3 separate regions of the Homo sapiens genome follow, and regions 1 and 2 are each linked to region 3. The links are contacts of gene promoters, found by promoter capture Hi-C in blood cells and fetal thymus (Javierre and others, 2016). All regions are on one chromosome and are shown on one strand. Each heading gives the region's core, a stretch centred on a gene start or on the middle of the fragment in contact. The rest is flanking DNA. Distances are from core to core; before and after follow the strand shown.

What was found. The method cuts DNA at HindIII sites, captures the fragments that hold promoters and counts their contacts. A CHiCAGO score of 5 or more calls a contact.
Region 1: a fragment that was not itself captured here is called in contact with the fragment with the promoter of TPM3 in region 3 in 9 of 17 cell types (megakaryocytes, naive CD8 T cells, total CD8 T cells and 6 more); the score reaches 11.5 in megakaryocytes.
Region 2: a contact is called between a fragment that was not itself captured here and the fragment with the promoter of TPM3 in region 3, in 1 of 17 cell types (M2 macrophages). The highest score is 5.2, in M2 macrophages.

Annotation. Positions count from the first base shown.
Region 1 is chr1:154,349,064-154,352,644 of GRCh38, forward strand. It overlaps ATP8B2 (ATPase phospholipid transporting 8B2), which reads left to right. Exons shown (of 28, transcript NM_001370597.1): 28 at 1-2,241. The coding sequence ends at 55. Among named protein-coding and RNA genes, the nearest start is that of ATP8B2, 25 kb to the left of the region's middle. RefSeq lists enhancers at 1-251, 252-1,235. The HindIII fragment of the contact is 6,441 bases long and covers 1-3,581 here.
Region 2 is chr1:154,027,131-154,030,908 of GRCh38, forward strand. It overlaps NUP210L (nucleoporin 210 like), which reads right to left. Exons shown (of 40, transcript NM_207308.3): 28 at 2,766-2,924; 29 at 376-467. Among named protein-coding and RNA genes, the nearest start is that of RPS27, 38 kb to the left of the region's middle. The HindIII fragment of the contact is 2,424 bases long and covers 335-2,758 here.
Region 3 is chr1:154,190,372-154,194,350 of GRCh38, forward strand. It overlaps TPM3 (tropomyosin 3), which reads right to left and starts at 1,729. Exons shown (of 10, transcript NM_152263.4): 1 at 1,531-1,729; 2 at 815-940. The coding sequence starts at 1,647. MIR190B (microRNA 190b) reads right to left here and starts at 3,372; the gene lies at 3,294-3,372. The HindIII fragment of the contact is 3,875 bases long and covers 866-3,979 here.

The sequences.
Region 1 (3,581 bases), core at 388-2,887, 160 kb after region 3:
GAGTGACAGTGCCAGTAGCCCCAGTGGCGGTGCCGACAAGCCCCTCAAGGGCTGAAGGCCGAGGATGGATGCCCTGTGCCAGTGACCAGAGCACCCAGGGCTGGCCAGTCACTGAGGGAACAGCGTCTCGGAACTGCTGGTCCTCATTCCTTGCTTCCCGTCCCCCCGGTAGACTCTGTCCTGCTGGTCCCACCACACATGGCTGGGACATCTGTTCCCAGCTGTAGGCCCTTCCACCAGCTGGGGAGCTAGAGGGAGCAGGCCCAAGGGCAGAGCAGAGGCTGAGGCACGGGGAGCCAGCCCCACTCGGGGACCAGAAGTGGAACCAAAAACAAGAAAAAACTGTGAGAGATTGTGTCTGCCCCTGCCCTGCCTGGGACCCACAGGGAGACTATAATCTCCTTATTTTTTTACTCCTACTCCCCAGAGGGGCCCTAGTGCCTCTGTTCCTGAATTACATAAGAATGTACCATGCCGGGAAGCCAGAGACCTGCAGGGGCCTCGGCCCCTCACATCGTGTATGTCTCTCCTTGATTTGTGTTGTGTCCAGTTTGGTTTTGTCTTTTTTTATTTGGCAAGTGGAGGAGGCTTTTATGTGACTTTTATGTTGTGGTTGGTGTCTTAACTCTCCTGGGAAAAGGAGGCTGGCACACACTGGGATGCCGCAGCCTGGCCGGCTGTGGGGTGGTTTGGGAGGATCCATGTCGGCTCTGCCTGCAGTGACCAGTGCTCTGTGGGGCAGAGGAGCTGACCAGGGAGGGAGGTACCCATGAGCAGAGGGTAGTGGGAGAGTGTAAAGGAGGGTTTGGTCCTGTCTGCTTCCTCACCTTGAGAGTAAAGTGCTGCCCTCTGCCCCCAACACACACACATATCAATTCCTGGATTCCTTAGTCCTGCTGGCCTTGGGCTGGAGCCTAGGAAAGTGGCCCCCAAATCCTTAGTGAGCTAAAGCTGGGTCTGAAATTTGGTCAGTGGGGAGGGGTAGTTTTCTTTTCTTTTTTCTTTTTCTTTTTTTCTTTTTTTTTTTGAGATGGAGTCTCACTCTTGTCACCTAGGCAAGAGTGCAATGGCACAATCTCAGCTCACTGCAACCTCCACCTCCTGGGTTCAAGCGATTCTCCTGCCTCAGCCTCCTGAGTAGCTGGGATTACAGGCACACACCACCACGCTTGGTTAATTTTTGTATTTTTAGTAGAGATGTTTCACCATGTTGGCCAGGCTAGTCTTGAATTCCTGACCTCCTGACCTGCCCACCTCAACCTCCCAAAGTGCTGAGATTACAGGCGTGAGCCACCACACCCAGCTCAGGGAGGCGTAGTTTTCTTTAATTTTAAATTTAAACCCAAGTTTATTGGCAGACTCCCTTTTGACCTCCCTTTGCCTCCCCATCTGGTGCTTTCTTGCATCTACACCCCAGGGCCCTGTGGTGGGGCTGCAGGGGGAAGCTGTGCACCTGAGATGAGGCTGGAACGGGAATTGGCCTCTCTGCTCCCTTCTTCAGTAAGCAAGGAGCCCCGCCCCTCAGGCCCAGCCTCTGGCAAGAGGTGGTGGAATCCTTGTGCCGGGTAGTAGAGGAGGATAAGGGCAAAACCAGGCCCAGGCCAGTGCCTGGCTTGGTCTGGATGGGACACTGTCAGAGTTTGGCCACAGCCTGTCCTTTACTTCATCCACACCTATGAAGCTATTCCCTAAATAAGGCATTTCCCAAGTTAGTCGCTACCTAATCAGCCTTGAGAAGAATCCTTTCCTCTTCTTTGATAGTGGGTCGGGGGATTCTTCAGGAATGGTTTGGAGCTGGGAGTGGGTAGGGGGATTTTAAATGTTCCATATGGGAGCCCCAAAGGAACTGGATGGGCTGCAGTGAGGTGGGGGCGGGTGGGCAGGGAATGGGAGAGGGGAAGTCTTGGCAGGGAAATCCCTTTTGGCCACACAGTTTACAAACCCAGTATCATGTCTGTCTGTGTGTCTCTCAAGGTGAGAGTCTGATTTTTATACCAAAGAGGAAATGATTTTTTTTCATATTTTGTTTGTCTATATTATATAAATATATATATACAGTTATATATATATATATTATTTTTTGGTTCTCTCTCGTTTTTTAGGGAGGGAAGAAAGTACCAAGTTGCATTGAGCTGTAATTAAGGAACATTATAATTTATGACACATTTCTATACTTGCAAAAATTATATCATTTTATGGATATAAGAGAAAAATGCCTTTTTATAAAATTTCAATTTCTGAGAAGTGTGTAATTTGTCTCTTTTCTGATGTTTAACCAAGACTGGTGGTGAAAGTAAAGACAGAAACTGTCTCTTAAATGTAATTGAGTGGGTAGATCTGGGATATCTTGGACAAATTGGAATCTGACTGGTGTGGGATAGCACCTCATCCATTTGCAGACCTCCCGGGATCTGAGTTTCAGCTGAAGATGAAGACGGGGCAGTGGGTGGTACTGAGCGGCATATCGTATGGACTTTGGCTGGGTGCCTAGGACCTTGAGCTGTTTACCTTTCTCCAAACGCAGGCCAACCTGTCATCCCTAACACACGCCAGATGGATGTGTGTGTAGGGAAAGTACCTGGTAAATATTGTAAGGTTTTGTTTTTTAACTCTGCGCTTTTCCGCATGCCTCACATCTTCCTGGCTTCTCAAGTGAGTATCAAGGAAGCTAAAGTCTTATATTAAAGGGAGCTTTCCTCCAGGGAAGGGAGGGCGGATGAGGATGGGGTCCTAGGAGTCAGGGCCAGGGTTAGTGCTGGCCTGAGGAGAAAGAAGTATAGCTTCCTCCGCCGATGGCCAATATCAGCATGATCCAGCCCCACCCGCAGGCTAATTTCCCCCTGACCCAGCCAGTCTTCAGTTATGGAACAATCCTTCTCAAAAACGTAGACTGGGTGTGGTGGCTCAATGCCTGTAATCCCAGCATTTTGCGAGGCTGAGGCAGGAGGATCACTTGAGCCCAGCCCAGGAGTTCAAGACCAGCCTGGGCAACATGGGGAGACCCCGCCTGTATTAAAAAAAAAAAAAAAAAGGGTGGGGGAGCGGAGGGTGTATGGGGGGAAGATGTGAAGATAAGATCTGTTTCCCTCTTCAGGAGAAACGGCCCCTGGCGGGAATCCCGCCACAGACCGCCAGGAACACCACCTGACACCCACCTCCACCCAGGGAGAGGCTGTCCAGTCCACACAAGCCTTTCTTTGGGGTCTGTCTGGAACCCTGAGCTTTGGGCAGCAAGTGGCATCTGGCTTCAGTGCCCCCACCCCCGAAACACAGAAAGAAGCCTTAATCCCTTGAGGCTGGTGAGGCCCCAAGTCCACCCCTCCCACAAGACAGGTCTTCAGCACTGCGCTGGCCTCCCGTTGGGGGTCTGTTCAGCCACTGGGAATGTCTTCCTTGGCTCCTCTCGCTGACCCTGGCTCTCCTGCACCCAGGATCCTATTATGTGTGTCTGAGGGGCAGGGCCAATGTCATTTTAACTTTCATTGCCTCTTGGGGACGCGTTTTCTCCGTCGCGATATAGACACACGCCTCCACGGAGGCTCCGGGCACTCGGGCTCCCCGTTTTCTCCCCTCTGCCGCAG
Region 2 (3,778 bases), core at 297-2,796, 160 kb before region 3:
ATACTGTATGATTCCATTTATATGAAATACATTCAGGATAGCTAATACCGTACACAGAAAGCAGATTAGTGATTGCCAGGGGCTGCGAGGAGGAAAGAAAGAAGAGTGACTGCTTCACAGGTATGGGATCTCCTTTGGTGGTGATAAAAATATTTGGAACTAGATAGAGATGCTGAATACACAATATTGTGAATGTACTAAATGCCACTGAATTTTACACTTTACAATAGTTTTACATTATGGGAATTTCACCTCACACAAAAAATTATTTGGGAAAAATCTCCTAGAAGGCAAAAGTGTTCTTTCTATGTCAATGTTTTACTGAAAATACTTAAGCTTAGATCCTGGCACTTCCTTATTCTCCCTTTTCCTTACCTGTTGGTATGGAGTTTGAGCTGAGAATTTATAGGCATCAGAATCTGCTCTGGTTGGCACTCTGGATAGAAGAGTTGGAGTTTTTCAAACACCTATAATGAGAAAATGTTTTCCTCATTTTTGGCAAAGACAAATTATGACTTTTACTTACATATAGACTTCAGTATAATCCCGAAGAGATTACATGCAAATAAATGACAACTACGAATCAACAGTCTGCCTAACTTCTAATTAGTCTAAAATCGTCCACAATACTCCTCTCCAAAATGAACCAGGCACTCAAAACGTAACTAGATATTCTAGAAGATATAACCTAATGTTAGCCCTGTTTCTGACTCTGAGGGACTCAGCATGTAGCAAAGTTTACACTTACCACATCTTCCATATTGCTTAGATATTAGGTATAAAAATACTTTGAAATTTCTAATTTTGGCTCTGGTAAAATGACATGAAGTTTGGGGAAAAGAACTTATAATATTAAATTAGCATGAAATAACATCCAGGTCTTCCACCTTCTAGTAAAGTGCTCCTTCCTCTACTTCACATGGAATCAGAGAACCAAAGCCAAAATAAAGGAAAAAATAAAACAGGAAAAGAAAAAAAAAGTCTCAAAATCAGAGGCAGTGAAACTTACTCGACCCATATAAGTGATAATTTGTTTTTTGAATTCTAAAAACAACAGAGCCATTTAGCTTTTAGCCCAAGAATATCTGTAGAAACTATTCATACTCTTACACCTTATCAAAAGTTAGAATTATGTTTTATCCTAACTGTGAATATATTTAAATGGACTTATATCGGCTGGACGCGGTGGCTCATACCTGTAATCCCAGCACTTTGGGAGACCAAGACGGGCAGATTACCTGAGGTTAGGAGTTTGAGACCAGCCTGGTCAACATAACGAAACTCCATCTCTACTAAAAATACAAAAAGTAGCCAGGCATGGTGGCGCATGCCTGTAATCTCAGGTACTCAGGAGGCTGAGGCAGGAGAATCACTTGTACTTGGGAGGTGGAGGTTGCAGTGAGGCGAGATCATGCTACTGCACTCCAGCCTAAGCAACAGAGTGAAACTCTGTCTCAAAATAAATAAATAATTAAATAAAAATTGTTAATGGACTTATAATATCTATGTCAGGTGGAGTGGATCAGAAATGAATCCCTCTCTAGTTACTATGGTGTTCATATCCTGTGTTCCTGATATGGGGAGTTGAAGGGAGTGTGTGTGCTACAGTTTCTTTTCTTTTTTTTTCCAGACTACTCACCTGCAAGTACTAATAGTTTCTAATGTTAATAGTATATAAAAGCAGCCGGGCGTGGTAGCTCACGTCTGTAATCCTAGCACTTTGGGAGGCCAAGGCGGGTGGATCACTTGAGGTTAGGAGTTTGAGACCAGCCTGGACAACGTGGCGAAACCCCGTCTCTACTAAAAATACAAAAATTAGCCGGGCATGGTGGTGCACGCCTGTAATCCCAGCTACTCGGGAGGCTGAGGCAGGGAGAATTACCTGAACGCTGCAGTGAGTGGAGATTGTGCCACTGCACTCCAGCCTGGGTGACAGAGTGAGACTCTGTCTCAAAAACAAAAAACAAGCCAGGCATGGTGGCTCACACCTGTAATCCCAGCACTTTGGGAGGCTGAGGCGGGCAGATCACGAGGTCAGGAGATCGAGACCATCCTGGCTAACACAGTGAAACCCTGTCTCTACTAAAAATACAAAAAATTAGCCGGGCATGGTGGCAGGCACCTGTAGTCCCAGCTACTTGGGAGAATGAGGCAGGAGAATGGTGTGAACCTGGGAGGAGGAGCTTGCAGTGAGCCAAGATCACACCACTGCACTCCAGCCTGGGCAACAGAGCAAGACTGTCTCAAAAAAAAAAAAAAAAAAAAAAAAAACCACAAAAAAACAAAAAACAGGCCAGGCACAGTGGCTCACGCCTGTAATCCCAGCACTTTGGGAGGCCGAGGCAGGAGGATCACTTGAGGTCAGGAGTTTCAGACCAGCCTGACCAACATGGAGAAACCCCGTCTCTACTAAAATTACAAAATTAGCTGGGCTTGGTGGCACATGCTACTCGGGAGGCTGAGGCAGGAGAATTACTTGAACGCAGGAGATGGAGGTTGTGGTGAGCCGAGATTGTGCCATTGCACTCCAGCCTTGGCAACAAGAGCGAAACTCCGTCTCAAAACAAAACAAAACAAAAACAAAAAACAAAACTATATACAAGCAATTAGCAGGAATTATAAAGATCTAGGAAGTACAAACCTGTTCCAGGAATCGCTCTAACAATTATCTGTCTCTATCCAGACTAAGCTCTTTGTTGATGGTAAGAGAATATAACTTTCTTATCCTTAATATACGAAAATAAGATTTAGATTTGGAAGCTTACCAGGATCTGTACTTCATCAGAGAGTTCCAACAAATTCCCCTCAAACTGCCCAGAGGAACTGTTCATGCAGTGAACAGTGACCTTGATACTGGTCCTGCCTGCTGCTTTTGTATGGACAACCATGGCAAAGTTATGCTCTACTGGGAGCTGTAGAAAAACCTAGACAGTGAAGGGATAGATTAAGAAATATTCATCAATAAACATGGTGTCCTTCCTTTTTTTTTCACTTTTTTAATATTAAATTTTTTTTTAAATTAAAAATAAAAAGTCAGGAAAGGGTGGGAGGGGGCGAGGGATAGAAGACTACAAATAGGGAGCAGTGTATACTGCTTGGGTGATGGGTGCACCAAAATCTCACAAATCACCACTAAAGGGCTTACTCATGTAACCAAATACCACCTGTACCCCAATAACTTATGAAAAAATTAAAATTAAAAATTCACTCAGCCTGGAGTGCAGTGGAACAATCTCAGCTCACTGCAGCCTCGACCTCCCGGGCTCCAGTGATCCTCCCACCTCACTCTCCCTAGTAGCTGGGACTACAGGGGCACACCACCACACTCAGCTAATTTTTGTCTTTTTTGTAGACATGGGGTTTCGCCATGTTGCTCAGGCTGGTCTTGAACTCGTGGCCTCAAGCGATCTGCCCACCTCAGCCTCTCAAAGTGCTGGGATTACAGTTAATTTTTTGTTTTTATTTTTAATCTTTGTGGCTACGTTGTAGGTATACATATTTATGGGGTACATGAGATACTTTGATACAGGCATAGAACCTGTAATAATCACATCAGGGTAAGTGGGGTATGCATCACCTCAAGCACACTTTAAGTTGAAACCTTTTTTGGTTTTTTTTTGAGACAGGGTCTTGTCCTGTTGCCAAGGCTGGAGTGCAGTGGTGAAATCATGGCTTCCTGTGGCCTTGACCTCCTGAGCTCAAGCAATCCTCCCACCTCAGCCTCTCAAGTAGCCGGGACCACAAGCATGTGCCACCATGTGCCAATTAGTCCAGCTAA
Region 3 (3,979 bases), core at 479-2,978:
AACTTTTCAATCTACTCTCTCATTTATCTTTGCAGCAAACTTCAAGGTTAAAGATGAAGGAAAGTAGGTGATGATGATGGGATAATATGAGATGGAAAAGAGAATTTATTTTATTTGAGAATGGGAAAATTCAGCCCTAGACAAGCTGAGTAATTACTCACGGTCATAGAGTGAAGTCTGGTGGTGATACCTTTACCCCCTAAGATTCTTTCTTAGTTTCTATTATACTCTGTCACTGTAGGGATCTCTCTGCTGCCCTAGGAGCAATGCTTCATATGGCATCTCCATGGCATAAAGGCAAATGCCTGCATTGGCCAAGATAAATAAACCCATATATGGCCAGGGTCAGTGTGACCTCCATTTCCCATTGTGAAATCCGAGCTGGTTTTGTTGGACAGTTGAGAGATGAGAGGTTCCCTATTAATACACATATCCACATGCCAAGACTTGGACATAAAAGCTAAGAATGTGGCATGGGGGAGGAGGTAGGATAAGTGACAGCATTCTGAACTTAGAGTCCCCTCTCTTTGTCCAGGTCCTGGGAAAGATAATTAAATTCCTGGGTTGGTGATAGGAGATAAATGAGACCTTTACATGTATTAAAAAAAAACTTTTAACATGTTGGAGATGTCTTTAAGAAAGAAAATACATGCCATTATGAGAATATACCAGCATGTGGTTATATGCAAAAATGTATGTGAGTATATATGTCTGTGTTCCATGAACCCACAAGTGTGTTTGGAATTTCGTCATACATTAACATAAAGATCTATATGTGTAGATTAAACCCATCCTCCATCTCTCTAATACTCACATCAGCAGCCTTCTTCTCTGCCAGTTCCAGCTTCTCCTGGGCATCCTTCAAAGCTTCAGAATACTTGTCCAGCTCATCCTCTGTCCCTTTCAGCTTCTTCTGCATGGCTGCCAGCTCATCCTCCAGCTATAGGAGCCCAGAGAGTCACACACAAAAACACACAAACACAACAATGCAGGGTTGGACCCTGGGCTCTTGGAGCCCTGAGTGTAACCTCCATGTTACCATCCCTAGTGAGACACACTTTCTCCCCAGCCACTTCCAGCCCACTGCCTCAGGAGTTATGCCGTAGCTTGGCCTGTGACCCTGTAATCTCTGATCCTAAGATGACCAAGCCATCCTGGGTTTTCATCCAAGACCCCTGGATGATAAATATCTAAAGTGTAGATGCCCGTGATGCTATTTGAGTGAAAAGAGATGCTCTTTCCCTCTAGAACTCTTACCTTTTCCTCTAGAAGTCAAGGGTTCTTCCAAAACATGGTCCATTTCTACTTAAATTCAGCAGACATACTGTGGCTCACTGACTTTCCCAAGGTCACAAAGGCAGTCTGAGACAGATATGTTAGATATCCTCTGCTCCTCCAGTGAGGCTGGGGAGTCCATCCCACCCCCAAAAAGGAGGTGACACCAGTAGTCACTGTCTTTCCCATGAAAACTCCCTTCCATTTCACAGTCTTGTTCACTAGCAGATGAGAGAGATCAATGCCAGTGCCTACCTGTTTACTTCTTTCTTCTGCCTGCTTCTGCTCAGCTTCAGCTTGCTCTGCCCGATCCAGAGCATTCTCCTTGTCTAACTTCAGCATCTGCATCTTTTTCTTGATGGCCTCCATCATGAGCAGTGGCTGTTGGTAGGCTCACCTGTGAACACTGGAGAACTGGAGACTGGGGCAAGAAAGAAGGGGCTGCTGCCTGAGTGACCAGGAGGTCCCCAGACTTGAGTCTTTATCTGTGCTCATAGCTCCACCTTTTGTTCCTAATATGGTCTTTCCAGCTCCCTCCACCCCATCATTGTTCTCCTGGGGGAACACAGGGTGAGACGCTTTGATGAACTGACATCACCAGCAAAAAAAATATCTAGCAACAGCTGAGGCTGATTTTAGACAATGGAAAGTGGGGGAGGGAAGAGGTTCTCCCTGACCCTGAAACTTTCCACTCATTCTGGGCAGCTCTATGGATGTTTTAAAAGAAGAGGAAGAGGGGAGGGAAGAACATTGAAATAGAGAAGTGTACTTTGGCAATTCTAGGTTGGCAGTTTGCATCCAGGGGGTCCTGGTTGCCTTTCAGCTTCCCGTTTCACTCTCCCCCAGACTGTGTTGAATGCTGGTCAAACTCCGTTAGTTGAGTTTTAGCTTTTGATTCCTGGTATTCAAGGAGCTTGGGCACAGGGAAGAGGGGAGGTCACTCATGATCCTTAACAATTCTCCCAGATCCCCAGATCAAATTGCTGTGCTATTCTGGGAGTCTCCGATTGGCAGGGAGACGTTTTTCCTCCCCACCAAGAGCCACAAGAGTAGAGTAAGAGGTAGGGTTGGAATCTCCAACCCTATCCTTGAAGGCTATCCCAGAGCTTCAAGTGGGGTGGGGAGAGAAACAGGGGAGGGTCAGAACAATCCAGACAGGATCATACCCTTTGTTTTCCCACAGTAATCTTAAAATAGAACTGTTGTACCCACACAGACTTTGGTCTGTGTGGCTCTCTCCTCTTCTTCCCTTTATCTTCTCCCTTCTTAATTCTCCCCAACGCTGCCACTCACCACATCATCGTAATCATCATTATCAGCTCTATTCTTTCCAGTTTAGTTCCAGACCATGTTTATTCTTCCATTGGGAGCCTTGTTACTAACAGGTGGCAAGGATACCAGTCCACTGGCACCATACACCTGAAAATATGCCAAGGGAGAGGTGGGCACTGTTCAAGGTGACCAGATATATTGGACAAATATAAATGGCTCTAGTTAGTCATTTATGTCAGGATACTGAGAGTTAATGCTAAGCCCCAGCAATGGGGGAACGGAGACACCCACCAGGCCAGTGGGTAGAGCAGAGCTGGAGTCCACTATTGAGAGCTTCCAGTCACTAGAGGTAGATAGGCAGATAGACCATCAGCTGACTCTCGACAGAGAGAGGAGAAACCAAGTCTCCTTTCTCTGGAGATTAGCCAGGGAAAGGGGTTAGGGAACAGGGAGAGGAAGGAGTGGAAAATGGGGGGGGGGTGGGCAAGTGAATAAGGGGGAGAAAAATACGAGGACAAGAAAAGGCAAAGAAATGTCCCTTCTAGTATAAGGGGACAAGAAATAGAAAGATTCTATCCTCAAATTCCAACTCTCTCCCATTCCCACACCAGCCCTCTTAGGTTAAGATTGAAATGCACATAGGTTGCAGCTACTGGACTTTTGGGGGGGTCCTGGAGAGAAGAGGTTCAGTAAAAGAGACAGGAGCCCCAGAGATTGAAGTATGAAAGAGGGTGGTGCTGAATCACCTGCTGCTGTAAGAATATGTTTGACATTTAGTTGGTTCCTAATTAAACAACCCAATATCAAACATATCACACAGAAGCAGGCAGGAGAGCTTTGGGGGTCATCTGCCTTCCTTCCAGTTGCAAAGAAAGAATAGAGCAGACACCAGGCACCAATCATGTCTAGGTGGAGAGCCATCTCCTTGAGGAAGGGTACTGGCTCCTGCTCTTCACCTCCCAAGACAGCCAGCTCTTGCTTATTGTCCTACGTGTCATCCCTGCCTCAGCTCCTCCTCTACAAGCTCCTGGCCTTTGCTGGATCACGTTGGCCTAAACCAGGAAGAATACCTGGCAGGGCTCCACATCCGGGCAACTATCGTTCCCTAGAGCTCCCACACAGAGCTTCTCACCCTGATGTCACGGCCCCAGCGCCCAGAGGATCAGCCGTGTCAGCAGCTCCTCATCAAAATTGCCACCTGCTCTCTTCAATGCCATTCCAGCTGCCCTGAGGCTTTCCGGGGTGGGGGCAGAGGACTTGTACACCCTGCTTTACCTTTCCAACAGAACTCCTAACCTTCCCAGATCACCCCCACAAGACTACTGAGGTCCGTTCAGGAGGCACCATCCTGGCACCGTCCTGCTCTTAAGTGCTGCAGATGCTTGGCTTCCCCTTTCTGCCAGCTTAACCCTTCTCACCTTCTCCCCATGTC